Linked DNA regions of Homo sapiens: regions 1 and 3 are each linked to region 2. The links are contacts of gene promoters, found by promoter capture Hi-C in human tissues and cell types (Jung and others, 2019). All regions are on one chromosome and are shown on one strand. Each heading gives the region's core, a stretch centred on a gene start or on the middle of the fragment in contact. The rest is flanking DNA. Distances are from core to core; before and after follow the strand shown.

What was found. Contacts are between HindIII fragments. The study calls those that stand out against the background at their distance.
Region 1: the fragment with the promoter of EPHB4 here is called in contact with the fragment with the promoter of SAP25 in region 2 in 2 of the 25 tissues and cell types used here (IMR-90 fibroblasts and mesenchymal stem cells).
Region 3: a fragment that was not itself captured here is called in contact with the fragment with the promoter of SAP25 in region 2 in 1 of the 25 tissues and cell types used here (spleen).

What each region holds. Positions count from the first base shown.
Region 1 is chr7:100,826,106-100,829,010 of GRCh38, forward strand. It overlaps EPHB4 (EPH receptor B4), which reads right to left and starts at 1,418. Exons shown (of 17, transcript NM_004444.5): 1 at 874-1,418. The coding sequence starts at 925. It also overlaps a transcript of SLC12A9 not described here. RefSeq lists an enhancer at 1,422-2,217. The HindIII fragment of the contact is 16,187 bases long and covers 1-2,905 here.
Region 2 is chr7:100,572,624-100,575,695 of GRCh38, forward strand. SAP25 (Sin3A associated protein 25) reads right to left here and starts at 1,277. Exons shown (of 6, transcript NM_001348680.2): 1 at 974-1,277; 2 at 674-777; 3 at 483-589; 4 at 237-390; 5 at 31-128. The coding sequence starts at 1,119. LRCH4 (leucine rich repeats and calponin homology domain containing 4) reads right to left here. Exons shown (of 18, transcript NM_002319.5): 18 at 1,388-2,681. The coding sequence ends at 2,484. RefSeq lists enhancers at 2,141-2,695, 2,696-3,072. The HindIII fragment of the contact is 26,041 bases long and covers 1-3,072 here.
Region 3 is chr7:100,809,591-100,812,631 of GRCh38, forward strand. All of the region lies in intron 12 of EPHB4 (EPH receptor B4), which reads right to left. Among named protein-coding and RNA genes, the nearest start is that of EPHB4, 16 kb to the right of the region's middle. The HindIII fragment of the contact is 4,931 bases long and covers 1-3,041 here.

The sequences.
Region 1 (2,905 bases), core at 168-2,667, 250 kb after region 2:
GGCAGCTCACTGAAAGGACATTAGGGACACAGGAGAGTTTCTAGGGCTCTTGGCTCCCCCTTTAGGGGACCAGGAGGGACAGCGATCCATGGCCAAAGAAATGCTTGGAGAGACCAGGAGGTGGGAGATAGACTGGGTTAGTTAGGGCGATGTGGGGGCTGTGTAGGTCAGTTTCTACCTGGGGGCTGTGTAGGTCAGTTTCTACCCGCTCCTAGGTCTCAAGGGAAGCCCGGGACTCACCTGGGGCCGGGGTCTAGACCGCATTTAAAGGGATGGGGTGCAGCCTGTAGAAACCAAGGAGCCACCCTATACCAGGGGCAGGAGCAGTGGGCGGGAGAGCGGTTTGGGGGTTTGCTGTGTGAATGCAAAGGAGGCCATCCTGTTGCAGGAGTGTGGAACTGGAGGATCAAGGTGTGATCGCTAAGGAATTGGCGCTGGGGGTCGTTTTAGGGCCTAGCACGAAAAGTTGTGCCTTGTCTGCTGTTGCTTCTCCAGAAACCTTCCCTCATGTACGGCGGGAGGTGGGACTGGGACAGAAACTTTGCAGATAGTTTTGAATAGTGGGGTAGGGAGGAAAGGAAAGGCAGCCAGGGGCGTATGTAATCAGCAGTGAGAGTTCGGGGAGCCCGGGCAGGGGAATGTCCCGGGTCGTAGCCAGACTCCATCTCTTTCCCAAACAAAAGAAAACTCCACTACCCGTCGGGCGCCTCTTCCCCGCCCCCCTCCCGTTCCAGCACTATCGGTCCGAAGTGTTTGGGACTGCAGTGCCCGGGTAGGGGTAGTCAGAGGCCGGCCCCTCCACTCCGAGGCCCAGATGTTGGGGGGGAGGTCCCAGGAGTGACGGGGTGCGCCCCCCCCCGCAAGGAAACTCACCTTCCAAAGCTGCGGCCAACGAAGCCCAGCAGAGCAGCACCCGGAGCTCCATGGCGCCGCCTCACTCGGGTAGGATCCGAACTGAGTTTGGGGGGCCCTCGCCCCCCCAGGTCTGACTCTCCCTGGGCGGGTGGACGCCGATACTCCGCGCGGGACTCCTCGTCGGGGCCCTCAGCGCGGGCCCATGCGAGCGTGCGGGGCACCGGGCGGCGGCGCCAAGTGTGGCCCCGCGTCTGTGCCGCGCGCGCGGGCGGCGGGCCCGGAGCGTGCTGGCAGTGGCCGCGCCGGGCGGGCGCGCAGCAAGACGTGGCTGGAGTTGGGGTCCCTCCGGGGCCTCGGGGTCCCGCCCCGGGTGGCGGGGGCTGAGCCGGCCGCTCGCGGTCTCCCCCCCTCCCTGGAGTGGCTCTGCTCGCGCCGCCGGGCCGAGTGCTCTCCTCGCGGGCGGGGATGGTGGGAGCCCGAGCGGGGACGGAGCGGGAGGGAGGGAGACTGCGGCGCGGAGCCGGGCGGGCCGGGCCGGGCAGGGGCTGAGCTGCGCTGGAACTGGGCCGGGCGGCGCCGGGCCCGGGAGGGAGGGGCGCGCGGGGGGCGGGGGCAGCTCTCCCAACGCGGGGGCTCCGCGAGTGAGCCCCGGGCGCGCTGATTGGAGCTCACGCTACTGAATAATTCATGAGGGAAGCGGAGAGGGGCACCGAGTGGAGCAGGTCGGGAAGTTGAGAGAAAGTTTGGAGAAGGGGGAGGGGCGGCGGGTGAGGAACCCCGGGACCGCCCAGATGTGCGCCGTGGCGGTGCGCGCTGTCCAGGACCGAGCATGTCGGGGCTGGGGCCCAGGGACCCCCGGGACAGGCCCGAACCCGGCTGGCACCAGGGAGCAGAGAAAACACACACCCAGCAGCAACACGGAGGGCCGCCCAGGCGTGCACGTAAATGTTCACCGCGCACACAAAGCCCGCTCTGACCTTGCTGCGGACTCTAGATGCCGCTCTTGGATGCGCCCACCACCCTCTAGTGGGCGCAGGGACTGCGTTTTGGGGGAAAAGGAAGGAAAAGGGAGTAGAAGCTTTGGAGAATTGACGGCCGCCCAGGGGGCCTCAAGGAGCAATCCCAGTTTGGATAGCCTTGCAGCGAACGTTCACACAGTCACCCCATAAACATTCAGTGTTGGGGACCTACTGTGCGCGCAACCAAGCCCTGAAAAATGTCCAGAGGAGGCGCGCACTAAGCTGCGCTAGGGAGTAGAGAAAAATCGAGGAAACAACGGTAAAGAAAAGGTGGGTGTGGCGGGCGCGGTGGCTCACGCCTGTAGTCCCAGCATTTTGGGAGGCAGAGGCAGGCGGATCATTTGAGGTCAGGAGTTCAAGACCAGCCTGGCCAACATGATGAAACCCCGTCTCTACTAAAAATACAAAAATTAGCTGGGCATGGTGGCGCGCGCCTGTAATCCTAGCTACTCGGGAGGCTGAGGCAGGAGAATTGCTTGAACCGGGACCTAGGAGGCGGAGGTTGCAGTGAGCTGGGAGCTGAGATCGCGCCACTGCACTCCAGCCTGGGCTACAGAGTGAGACGAAATCTCAAAAAAAAAAAAAAAAAAAAAAAAGGTGGGTGTGTCCGAGAGGGTGAGGGGTCCGGCTAGATCTCCAAATCGCCCTTCTCACTCTCACTCTCGTGTTTTGGGGGGGCTTCCCCGCCGCCCGCAGCCATGACCCCTGAGGCTGGGGCTGCGGCTGCGGCTGCTGTCTTTCCTGAGCTGTTTCCTGTCTGGCTCCTGGGGGCCCTCGGGATGGCTGGGAGGGGCCCTTCCTCTCACTGCCAACTCCCCTCACCCTCCCATCAGTTAGCGGGGAGGGTCCAGCACAGCCGTGCTCCTCCCACCAACCCCCTTCTACTTCAGGGAACTTAACAGTATGGGTTACTGGATAGATGGATTGGAGGGGGTGCTGCTCCAGGAGTCAGCCCCTCCAAGGGGCAGAAGGAAAGGACTTAGACTCCCACAGTAATTAGCGGGGACAGATTTTTTTTTTTTTTTTGAGAC
Region 2 (3,072 bases), core at 27-2,526:
GTAAGGACAGGGAGGGGAAAGAGCTCTCACCTGCTGGGGGGCCTTGGACAGGTACAGGGGAACACGCTGCCCCCGGGGCAGCAGAGGGTCCGAGAGGAAGACATCTTCACAGCACACCACCGGGAACCCTAGGAGGAAACACCACTAGGGTGGCGGGCTGCGGGCTCCCACCCCTGGGCACTGGTTCCCAGAGGAGTTGGGGCAGCCTTGCGCCCCCGGGGGACCAAGGGAGGTACCTGCATCTGGGGGCGCCTGCTGTCCATTCCAGTGCCCTGTGGCAGGGGCCACGGGCCTGAGACCCCTGCCCGAGGCTGCTTCATACAGCGGCCAGAATGAGGGGTGACACAGCGTCCGGCCTGAGAACGAGGCTCCTGAGCTACAGTTGGCCCCCTAGGGTGAGGAGGACAGAGCACTGGAGCCTCAGGCCACCGCACAGCTCCCTGAGCACCCCAGCCAGTCCCACAGGTTTGCCCCCAACTCACCCACACCGGCCGAGGTCCTGCTTTGGCTTCATACTTGGGGTCCCAGGGCGCTAGTGGAGTCATCCTCGAGGGGGCCACCTCCCAGGCCACCTGGGGGGAACGGGGATCTGGGGGGACGCTTGGGGATTATAACAGGCTCACAGTCAGTGAGAGGCTCTTAGGGGTAGTAGAGGCAGCAGGGCCTGTCCTACCTGGGGCTCCGGGGGGCTGCTCAGTGGCCGGGCCTGGCAGGTGGTGGGGCAGCAGCAGCTGCTCTCTCCAGATCCAGGAAGGGCTACGGGATGGGGGCTGTGGGCTGGAGGGGCAGGGACTGAGGCTGCAGCCACACCGCCCCCACGCACCCTCCCCTGGAGCCCAAGGGTGCCTGGTGCAAGGGAGACCGAGGGACCCAATCTCCAGCAGGGACAATGGAGAAGCCTCCGTAGAGCGCGTGGTGAAGGCATGGAGGCCCCCAGTCGCTGTCCCCCCACGGCTCCGTCCGAGCCCCTCACCTGTCCCATGGGGGTGTCCCCAGCTCCCTGGGGGCGTCCGCTCCGGCGCTCCAGGGCTCGCCCTGGTCCTTGCCCGCCGGAAGGCCTGGTCCCTCGGGCGCCTCCTCCGGGCCCGCGCCCCACCGCGGCGGCGACCAGGGCAACATTCCGCGTTCCCGAGCGCAGGACGGTACCGCCGTGTCCCCGCCGCCCGGCCCGGCCCTCTCAGCCTCCCTCCGCGGCGCGGCGCGAACGTGCCCTCCTGGCGAACCCACCCCAGAGGCCTCGCGGCGACGCTGGCGCCCTGTGCGTCTCCCGGCCACGTGGCGCGTGCCCCCGCCGGGCTCCCGCGGGCGCCCCCTGGCGACTGGGCGGTGAATTCCGGAAACAGAGGCCCCCCCAACAACCCCGCGACGCACGTGCTCTCAGACACAGTTACACCTGAGGGCCACCCAGAGGGCTTCTGGCTTCTGTTTATTGCGGCTGACACGACACCTGCGACACCCGCGGTCCTTCCACCCAGACCCTCGACCCCAGAGGCAGCCAGGCCGGCAGGCCAAGGGTGCCCAGGCCCAGGCCACCCTCACCACGTGCTTCTCTGAGAGCGCGGAGCCCAGGCGCGTCTTCTGCTCCCGGGGTCCCGGGCGGGGTGGGCCCTGTGCCCCCACCTTCACCCCTAAGGCCGGTCCAGCAGGGCGTGGACGACAGCAGCGATGTAGGGGAGGCCCCTTCCCGGGGCCCCCTCCTCTTCCAGGATGTGGTGGGGCTGGCACAGTGACTCCTGGGGGAAGGGGCCGGGTTAGCTTCCCCACGGTGCCCCCTGCGGCTTCCGGCCTGTGGCAGGGGGTCGGGGGCAGACCCGAGCATCACCGTGCGCTCGGGGCTCGGCGACAAATGAGACGCAAGAAAGCTGTCAGCGATAACAGAAGGGAGGTGACACGGGGGGTTGGCGGACGCTCCGGGAGCATGAGAGGCCGGCATCTCAGGAGGGAGATGCTGGTGGGCACAGAGCCATGGCCACAGCCACCAACACGCGGAGCAGACGCGCGCGCGCGCGCACACACACACACACAGGCAGGGCGGCCACGGTCTGTACAGTTTATACACAGAGATAGGGACCCGGCCTGGGCCCCGAACCCCTACAAATATAGATCCTCTCTACAAAATAGAGATAATTTAGCCCCCCCATAGCAGCTGTTGGGGGGGGAAGGGGAGGGCACAGGAGGAAGGGGGAGACTCCAGCTCCTGCCACCCCTCACGGGGTACAGAGGGCAGGGGCAGGGCCGGCGGGGACATGAAGGCACCGTCAGCACTGAGAGGTGGGGACTCGTGGGGCTACTGGAGGGAGGCCAGAGGCTGGGGGCCCAGGGTCTGGGGGCACCAGAGTGGGGCCTCTGAGGTCAGTGTCTGTGAAGGGGGTGCACTAGTGTCTTTGGTTGGGGCTGAAGGCACCGCAGGTGGGGTCGGGTGGAGCAGGGACCTTATAAATAGAGAGGAAGGGAAAGGGGTGAGGGAGGGCCGATTTTGGGGCCTAGGAACCCAGGAGCCGAGTGTAGGTGACATAGAGCAGCAGCATGAGGACCACGTAGAAGACGACGAAGCCGCCCAGACCAGAGGGGGGCCAGAGGGGCGGTAGGGCCTTGCCCCCCACCCGCTTCACGGCCTCCAGCGCGGTCCGCAGCCCCCGGGCAGTGCCCTGGAGGAGATCCGAGGGCGAGCACAGGTCAGCCTGGGGGAGAGGAGAGCAGGTGGACAAGGACAAGGGACAGACGTCAGCAGCAGCAGCAGGACAGTCCCTCCCACCCCTGCCCTCACGTGCTGGGGCCAGAACCACGCCCACATGCTGACGTGCTGGGCAGGGGGAGTGCAGTGCAGGAGGAGTGCAGGGCAGGGCATGTGCAGGACAGGTGACATGCAGGACAAGATGGGGCCTGCAGGGCAGGGGATGTGTAGGACAGGTGACATGCAGGGCAGGGGGCATGCAGGGCAGGGGGCATGCTGGGCAGGGCAGGGGCAGCCTGTGCCTTCATCTGAGAGCAGACATCCGCTGCAAATGGAAGCCCACCATCCATGCCACATGCTCGGCTGAGTCCGGCATGCCACCACTCTTTAGAAAGCAG
Region 3 (3,041 bases), core at 456-2,955, 240 kb after region 2:
ACAGCCTCGATCTCCCAGGCTTAAGTGATCCTCCCGCCTCAGCCTCCCGAGTAGCTGGGACTACAGATATGCACCATCATGCTCTGCCCATTTTTGTATTTTGTGTAGAGACGGGGTTTCACCATGTTGCCCAGGGTGATCTCTAACTCCTGGCCTCGAGTGATCCACCAGCCTCAGCTTCCCAAAGTGCTGGGATTACAGGTGTGTGTCACTGAACCTTTAAGACCCTTTCTGTCTCTTCGACCAGGCACGGTGGCTCACGCGTTTAATCCCAGCACTTTGGGAGGCCAAGGAGGGTGGATGGCTTGAGGCCAGGGGTTTCAGATCAGCCTGGCCAACATGGCGAAGCCCTGTCTCTACTAAAAATACAAAAATTAGCCGGGCATAGTGGCTCATGCCTGTAATCCCAGCACTGTGGGAGGCTGAGGTGGTGGGCAGATCACGAGGTCAGAAGTTCGAGACCATCCTGGCCAATATGGTGAAACCCTGTCTCTACTAAAAATACAAAAATTAGCTGGGCATGGTGGCACTCGCCTGTAGTCCCAGCTACTCAGGAGGCTGAGGCAGAAGAATCTCTTGAACCCAGGAGGCGGAGGTTGCAGTGAGCCGAGATTGTGCCACTGCACTCCAGCCTGGGCGACAGCAGGACTCCATCTCAAAAAACAAACAAACAAAACCAAAAAAACCCCACATCAGATAGAGCTTCTCTTACAGGAAATACAGAGAGACAAGCTAAATGATCCCATAAGAAGAATTTCATAAATCCAGAAATCAAGACATTCAGGCGGACAAGGGACCTAACCCTTCAGTGTGTCAGTGTCATCATGAGGAACTGCTCAAGATTTAGAGAGGCTCGAAAATATAATAATCAGCAGGCGTGGTGGCTCACGCCTGTAATCCCAGCACTTTGAGAGGTTAAGGAGGGAGGATCGCTTGAGTCCAGGAGTTTGAGACCAGCCTGGGCAACATAGCGAGACCCCCATCTCCGTAAAAAATTTAAAAATTAGCCAGGTGTGGTGGTGTGCACCTGTAGTTCCAGCTACCCAGGAGGCTGAGGCAGGAGGATCACCTGAGCCAAGGAGTTTGGAGGCTGCAGTGAGCTATGATTGCACCACTGCACTCTAAACTGGGCGAAAGGGCAAGACCTTGTTTCTAAAATAAATAAATAAAATATATATAATAACCAGGTACAAAGCCCGGTCTTGAACTGGATCCTGGTTGGAATAAAGCAGCAGTGAAGGACATCTTTAGAACAACTAGAGAAACGTGAAAATCAACTGGGTATTCAATGACGCTAGGGAATCGCTATAACTCTGTTCAATGCAATGTTATTTTGCTACATAGAAAAATGTTTTGATTTTTTTAAAAAGATGCCTAGGCCAGGCATGGTGGCTCATGCCTGTAATCCCAGCACTTTGAGGGGCCGAGATGGGTGGATCACTTGAGCCCAGGAGTTCAAGACCAGCCTGGGCAACATGATGAAACCCTGTCTCTACTAAAAATACAAACATCAGCTGGGTATGGTGGTGCATGCCATGCAATTCCAAGCTACTCAGGAGGCTGAGGCAGGAGAATCACTTGAACCCAGGAGGTGGACGTTGCGGTGAGCCAAGAACGCACCACTGCACTCCAGCCTGGGTGACAGATGGAAACTCCATCTCAAGAAAAAAGAAAAGCTTAATAAAGTTAAAAAAAAAAAAAAAGTCAGTAAAATCTGGTAAAGTGACCAAATAAATTAAGCAGTTCTCTTTCCTCTCTAGCCACATCTGCATGAAGGACCCCGTTTGCTTTTTTTCACATTTGAAATGATTTGTTTACTTTTTTAAAAAGCCTGTCTATTTACTTGCTAATTTTCAGTCCCCCTGCCCCATTAGACCCTCTGCTCCCCAAGAGGAGAAATCCAGTTTGCCGTGTGTATAGCTTTATTCCTGGGGACTGGGAGGATGACCGGTGCGTAGAAAGCACTCAGTAAATATTTGTCAAAAGAAGGAATGACAGGCCAGGCACAGTGGCTCATGCCTGCAATCCCAGTGCTGTGGGAGGCTGAGGAGGGAGGCTCGCTTGAGGCCAGGAGTTCAGACCAGCCTGGGCAACCTATCGAGATCCTGTCTCTACAAAAAATTTTAAAAATTTGCTGAGCATGGTGGTACATGAGTGTAGTTCCAGCTACTCAGGAGGCTGAGGCGGGAGGATCACTTGAGCCCAGGAGGTCAAGGCTACAGTGAGCTATGAATGCACCACTGCACTCCAGCCTAGAGGACAGAGTGAGACTCTGTCTTAAAAAAAAAAAAAAAAAATTGGCCGGGCGCGGTGGCTCACGTCTGTAATCCCAGCACTTTGGGAGGCCGAGGCAGGCGGATCACCTGAGGTCGGGAGTTCGAGACCAGCCTGACCAACACAGAGAAACCCCCGTCTCTACTAAAAATACAAAATTAGTCAAGCGTGGTGGCACATGCCTATAATCCCAGCTACTGGGGAGGCTAAGGCAGGAGAATCGCTTGAACCTGGGAGGCGGAGGTTGCGGTGAGCCAAGATCTTGCCATTGCACTCCGGCCTGGGCAACAAGAGTGAAACTCCATCTCAAAAAAAAAAAATTCAATTAAAACAAAATTAAAAAAAAAAAGAAGGAATGACAACCTTCAGCTGTATGGGGCAGTGGGAAAGGAAGGTCCCAGGAGCCCAGCCTTTCCCAGAGGGAAAATTAAAGGCAGAGGGCTGGCCAGGCGTGGTGCCTCACACCTGTAATACCAGCACTTTGGGAGGCTGAGGTGGGGAGATCACTTGAGGTCAGGAGTTTGATACCAGCCTGGCCTACATGGTGAAACCCTGTGTCTACTAAAAATACAAAAATTAGTCAGCATGGTGGTGCATGCCTATAGTACCAGCTACTTGGGAGACTGAGGCAGGAGAATCGCTTGAACCCTGGAGGTGGAGACAGCAATGAGCCGAGATCGCGCCACTGCACTCCAGCCTGGGCGACAGAGCGAGGCTCTGTCTTAAAAAAAAGAAAAGGCAGAGGACCAGGGCTTAGCCCAAGAGGA